Linked DNA regions of Homo sapiens: region 2 is linked to region 1. The links are contacts of gene promoters, found by promoter capture Hi-C in human tissues and cell types (Jung and others, 2019). All regions are on one chromosome and are shown on one strand. Each heading gives the region's core, a stretch centred on a gene start or on the middle of the fragment in contact. The rest is flanking DNA. Distances are from core to core; before and after follow the strand shown. Region 1 holds the start of ZNF354B (zinc finger protein 354B). Region 2 overlaps ZFP2 (ZFP2 zinc finger protein).

Region 1 (3,303 bases), core at 739-3,238:
TTTAGGGCCCACAACAAGGATTCTGGCTTTCACTCTAATTGCAAAGAGAAGACAATAAAACATCTCATTTTTGTTAAAAAATCTTTTTTACACCAGGCATAGTGGCTCACGCCTGTAATCCCAGCACTTTGGGAGGCCGAGGCGGGAGGATCACTTGAGCCTAGGCGTTTGAGACCAGCCTGGGCAACATAGTGAGACCCCGTCTCTCAAAAACAAAAACAAACAACAACAACAACAACAAAAAAAAACAGAAGCAGCAGCTTGTGGAAGTGTAGAGTAGTGTAGAGAGAGATAACAGGGCCTTGCACTGGGCAAGCAACCATGGAAGGACACCTGCAGTTCATGGCAACAGGGTGGGCGTGGCTCTACAAGTAAGGGACAGTTGTGCCATATGGAATTACCTATATGGGAAGATTGGTAATTAACACACAGGGAAATCACCATGCTACTTTCTTCTATGATTTTGACTATTTTAGATTCTACGTGTAAATGAAATAATGCAGTATTTGTATTTCTGTGCCTTCTTTATTTCACTTAACATAATGTCCTCCGGGTTCATCCATATTGTCACATATGTCAGGATTTCTTTATTTTTTTAAGGCAGAATAATATTCCTTTGTGTATATAAACACATTGTGGCCGGGCTCGGTGGCTCACGCCTGTAATCCGAGCACTTTGGGAGGCCGAGGAGGGTGGATCACGAGGTCAGAAGTTCAAGACCAGCCTGGTGAAGATGGTGAAACCCCATCTCTATTAAAACTACAAAAATTAGCTGGGCGTGGTCGCGGGTGCCTGTAATCCCTGCTACTTGGGAGACTGAGGCAGAGAACTGCTTGAACCTGGAAGGCGGAGGTGGCAGTGAGCCAAGATTGCGCCATTGCACTCCAGCCTGGGTGACAGAGCAAGACACCGTCCCAAACAAACAAACAAACAAAACATTTCCTTTATCTATTCATCCATCAACAGATAGTTGTTTCCATATCTTGGCCATGGTGAATAATGTTGCAGCTAACATGGGAGTGCAGGTATCTCACGGAGTTTCACTTCCTCTGGATCTATAGCCAGAAATGGGATTGGTGGATCCTAATGTAGCTCTAGTTATAATTTTTTGAGGAACCTCTATACCGTTTTCTGTAATGATTGTACCAATTTACATCCTTTTGATAGTGGCCATCCTAATGGAGGTGCAGTGATTTCTCATTGAGTTTGGGTTTATATTTCTCTTATACCTAGAGATGTTTACCATCTTTTTATATGCTTGTTGCTCATTGCTCATTTGTATATCTTCATTGGAGAATTGCCTATTCAAGTCCTTTGTCCATTTTAAAATCAGGTTATTTGGTTTTGTTATTGTTGTTGAGTTGTAAAAGTTCCATATAAATCCAGGATACATTGCAAATCAGATATATGATATGTAAGCATTTTCGTCTATTCTGTAGATTGCCTTTGTTTCCTTTGATTAGCCAAAGTTTTTAAGTTTGATGTAGTCCCATTTGTCTATTTTTGCTGTTATCTGTGCTTCTGATGTCATATTCAAGAAATCATTGCCATCTCCAACATCCTGAAGTTTTTTCCCTTTTTACTTTAGTAATTTATAAAATAATTTGGTCTCACATTTAGGTTTTTAATCAATTTTGAGTTAATTTTTATGTATGGTGTACGGTCAGGGTACAGGCTCATCTTTTGCACGTGGAAATCCAGCTTTGTCAACATCTTTTGCAGGGGATTTTCCTTTCCCAATTGTGTAGTAGTTGTTTTCGTGCCGCCCACGCCATCCTGAAATTCACACACAGAGTTGCAAGTTACTGCCCTCCGGGAACCTCCCCTTCTCTTCCGAAGAACCAGGAACCCGGGGCTCTACAGCTCACCCGGGCCCTCTCATAGGTCTGGGCGCCTAACAGCTCAGCTGCGACCTCGCCTCAAACGCGTGGAACTACACTTCCCAGAAAGCCAGCGTCCTCCCGTGGACTCCATTTCCTAGAGGCCTTAGCGGCCGCCTTGCTCCTCTAGGTCCCAGGCGCTCTGCGGAGCTTTCGCTGCCCGGTGAGCGGCGCCGGGCTTGAGGTCGCCCAGACGTCGGAGGAGCCGGGTCACGAGGCTGGAGCTTCCTGCTTGCAGAGTGCGGCGGGGAGGCGCGGCCCGGGAACGCGGGATCCTGGGGAGGTGAGCGGCATGGCTGGCTGTGCCGGGAGGAGGCGGCGCCTGGCGCCAGGGCGACCTGAGGCCGCGGGGCTCCGAGGGCCTCTGTGGGCGCGGGGGGGCACCCCCGCGTCTGTCACCGGCCCCCGCGCCAGGACTTGGACTCTCGCCCCTCACGGGCCGCTCCGGTGCCGCTGCCGACGCCCCTGCCTCTGGCTCGCGCCGCCCGCCGTGAACGCGGGGCCAGGCGTTTCCTCCCGGGCCCACCCTGCGCGCGCCGTGTGGGCCTCGCGGACTCGGGGCGCCGGGACCCCGAGCGCAGGGCAGAGGCAGCCGGGCCCGGTTTCTGAGTCAGTCCCCAGGACGGCCACTCCTCCTGCCTCGGGACACCCAGCGCTTTCCTCTTCAAAGCCGTTTTCCGTGGAGTCGGGAGACGATTCGTTGGCGGGAGAGAGAGGAACCGGCTGGGAAAGGCTTGAGGCGGAGGGAAGTCGTCCCGGGGCCGTCGTGGTGGGAGTCCCGGCCCGCCTCGCAGCGGCGTGAACGGGGCAGGTGCCCCGGCGCTGCCTCAGTTTCCTGAGCGGTGCAGTGGGTGCTGGCAGTGCCAGCTGGCGCCGAGGAACTCAGCGGCGTGGGGCGAGCCCTGGCCCTGGTGGGCTCAGCGGGTCGCTGCTGCCACTGCGGGTCCAGCGTCCCCTCCGTAAGCCCCAAGCCTGTGGGGCCTGGGCCTGGCCGGGCGGCCCAGCGCTGCTCTGGTCCGCGGGCTCCTGGCTCCTCCCGAATCCCTGTGAGGGCGCGCGGGGTCCTTCTCAGCGGGAGTCGGGGTTTTAGAGCTGCGGATTCCAGGGCTGGAAAGCAGAAGGGGTTCTTCCTGGCTCCCTTTTTCTTCTCAGATCTGCCTTCTGGAGACTGCGCCGTCCTCCCGGGAGAGCCAGAAAGAGGACATGGCTGCTGGGCAGCGGGAAGCGAGGCCCCAGGTGAGCTCATTGCCCTCCCAGATCCCAGTGGATGGATTTTCCCCACTAACTGGAGTTCTTCACCCGGGACCATCTCCAGCCAGGATGGAGCCCAAGTCCTTTTCTCTTGGAGGAGCTGGTCCGCCCTCATGACTGGTGGATTCTGTAGGGAGGACCACCCACCCTCCCCACCCGTGTCTAGTGGTTT
Region 2 (3,055 bases), core at 256-2,755, 62 kb after region 1:
TCTTTTGTTGTTGTCCCATACATCCCTGAGGTGCTCTTCATCTTTATTTTTTCTCAATCTTTTCTCTCTGTGTTGTTCAGATTGAATAATTTCTTTTAATCTGTCTTCAAGTTAATTCTTTCCTTTTTTCACCCTTCTGCTGTTGGACCTATTTAGCAAGATTTCTATTTTCTATATCAATAAATAAGTGTTTATATATTAAAAATACTGTAGGGCTAGGTGTGGTGGCTCACACCTGTAATCCCAGCACTTTGAGAGGCCAAGGCTGGTGGGTCACGAGGTTAGGATTTCAAGACCAGCCTGGCCAACATAGTGAAACCCCGTCTTTCCTAAAAATACAAAAATTAGCCGGGCATGGTGGCGTGTACCTGTAGTCCCAGCTACTCAGGAGGCTGAGGCAGGAGAATCGCTTGAACCCGGGAGGTAGAGGTTGCAGTGAGTCGAGATCGCGCCACTGCACTCCAGCTTGGGCAACAGAGTGAGACTTCGTCTCAAAAAAAAAAAAAAAATTGTATATTTTTCACTTCCAGAATTTCCACTTAGTTCTTTTTATATGCTCATTTTCTTTGCTGAGATTTTATTTCCATTTCTTTAGAGTGTGTTCACTCTGACTTGTTGGAACAAGTAAGGCAGATGCTTTAAAGTCCTTGTAAGATAATTGTATCATCTCACTTGATGTCTGTTGGTTATCTTTTCCCATGTAAGTTGAAATGTTCCTGGGTCTTTATATTCTCAGTGACTTCAAAAGGTATCATGGGCATTTAGAATATTATGTTATAAAACTCTATGTCTTCTTGAAATCCAACAGAAAATGTTGATATTTCTGTGTTAGCAGGCAGTCAACCTGGTTGAGCTCAGACTACAAAGTCCAACCAGCTTTCTGTGGGTTGTGGTTTCTGTGTCAGTTTGGTTGTCAGAGACTTCACATTGTTGCTTGAATCTTGCTCACATGTGTGTCACTCTGTGGCCAGTATGGAATTTAAGCAGCGGTCCCTCTTATTCTCAAAGTCCACGTGTGCTGCTTAGGGGGTCAGATTCATGCATATGTATCTCGCAGGTGAGCCCAGGAGTTCTTAAATAACTTCCAAGGTCATGTTCCCGAATTCTCCCCTGTCTATGTCCGCAGTAGTTTCAGCTTCCCTGTGGCTGTCCTTTTGACTCTTCTGGCTACAAGGCAGGGGCCTGTAGTTGCCCCGCTCTGCTGTGACTTCCAGTGACCATCCCTATGTAGAGCCAAGCAGCAGGAGGACAAAGAAAAGATGATGAAGTGGGGCTTCTTGCTACCCTTCTTGGGACCACAGATCCCTTGCTTGGGGAAGAAGGACCCTCTCCTCATGTTTTTGAGCTCCTGTCAGCTTGCAGTGGCACTGCTGTTGCAGCAGCCACCAGAGGATTGCTTAAGTGCTGGGGTGCAATAGAACAGAGAAAGGGGAAAAAATAGGCAATTCCCCCTGCTCTCTCTAAGCATTAGAAGTCCTTTTCCTGCTCCATGAACCGGCCCTAGAGCTTTTCCTGGAGAACCTCCTCTGCCTTCTCCTGCCTCAGTGCCTGTTTTCAGATGGCTGTATAAGTTTAGTACAGAAGACAGCTGAGGAAAAAAAGGAAGCTCACCACTGGTTCAGTGGTACTTTGGATTTTGGTTCTCTTCCCCAATTCACCTGCTACTGTTTACTTCTCAGGGCCTTCAAATAATTGCTTCATGCTTTCTGTTCGGGTTTATCAGTGGAAGAGACATGGTGGAATAGGCCTACTCCACCTTATCAGGAAGAGGATCCTCTACTTTGGTTTTAATTTGATCTTTGTCTAACTTCTTAAGGTGGAAACATAGGTCACAGATTATGGGCCATTCTTATTTACTGTAAAAACATTTAAAGCTCCTTCCGCAGGCAGGAGAGTCAGCTAGCCACCCAAGAAAACATCATGAAAGATACCGATATCAAGAGACTACTGTATACCCATCTTTTATGCATATTTTCAATTATCCTAAGTGTCTTCATTCCATCACTCTTCTTGGAGAACTCCTCAATATTGGAAACACACTTGACATGGTTGTGCGTCTGTTCTGGTTTTGTAACTGCTGTCAGTCTAGTACTATATTTAGTAGTGAAACCAAATACATCCTCTAAAATAAGTTCATTATCATACAAGGTAACCAGATTTTTGAAATGCTGTATCTACTTTCTTATGTCTTGTTTCTCCTTTCATGTAATTTTTGTTCTATATGGAGCACCACTAATAGAGTTGGCATTGGAAACATTTTTATTTGCAGTTATTTTGTCTACTTTTACTATTGTGCCTTACTTATGTTTGTTAGGACCAAACCTCAAAGCATGGCTAAGAGTTTTCAGTAGAAATGGAGTTACATCCATATGGGAGAATAGTCTCCAGATCACTGCAATGTCTAGTTTTGTAGGAGCATGGCTTGGAGCACGTCCTATTCCTTGACAGGGCAAGAGCATGGCAGGTATGGCCCATCTCCTGTACGCTTGGAGCGACCTTTGTCCACGTGGCTGGCCTTGTTATTTCACCACTCTGGATATACTGGAATAGAAAGCAACTTACATACAAGAACAATTAACTGGAGCAAAGGGAGATATTTCTTTGTGCAGATTCTGTAAGGGCTGTGCAGAAATGTGTGTGGTCAAAGCCAAGCAGTTCCATTTACAGCACTGTTTTTTATGTAGTTACAACATGATGTGATTGTAGCTTTTTAAACTATGAAACCCCTGAGAGATTGTACCTTCTAGTTGAAATAAAGTATTTATAATAGAAAAAAAAATATTGAAAGCTATATAATTTCCTCTAAGCATTGCTTTGGTTGTAACACATAAAATATTATCTCATTCCATTGTGATTTCCTCTTTGACCTCTCAGAATTTACAAATTCACTGCTTAATTTTCAAACATGAGGATTTCCCAGATAGTTGAAATGTAATTCTTTAGGTGTCTTTTTTTAATTGTAATGTTTTGTGTTTGTGTGTATATGTGTACAATATACGTAACATAAAATTTGCCATTTTAGCCATTTTTAGTGTATCATTTGGAGGCATTTAAA

Evidence for each region. The method cuts DNA at HindIII sites, captures the fragments that hold promoters and counts their contacts. A contact is called where the count stands out against the background at its distance.
Region 2: a contact is called between a fragment that was not itself captured here and the fragment with the promoter of ZNF354B in region 1, in 1 of the 25 tissues and cell types used here (pancreas).

The regions. Positions count from the first base shown.
Region 1 is chr5:178,857,965-178,861,267 of GRCh38, forward strand. ZNF354B (zinc finger protein 354B) reads left to right here and starts at 1,989. Exons shown (of 5, transcript NM_058230.3): 1 at 1,989-2,163; 2 at 3,033-3,116. The coding sequence starts at 3,084. RefSeq lists enhancers at 1,839-2,571, 1,856-2,055 and silencers at 2,196-2,395, 2,476-2,555. The HindIII fragment of the contact is 12,564 bases long and covers 1-3,303 here.
Region 2 is chr5:178,920,144-178,923,198 of GRCh38, forward strand. The region is part of intron 4 of ZFP2 (ZFP2 zinc finger protein); the gene reads left to right. It also overlaps the pseudogene PIGFP1. Among named protein-coding and RNA genes, the nearest start is that of ZNF454-DT, 19 kb to the right of the region's middle. The HindIII fragment of the contact is 5,302 bases long and covers 1-3,055 here.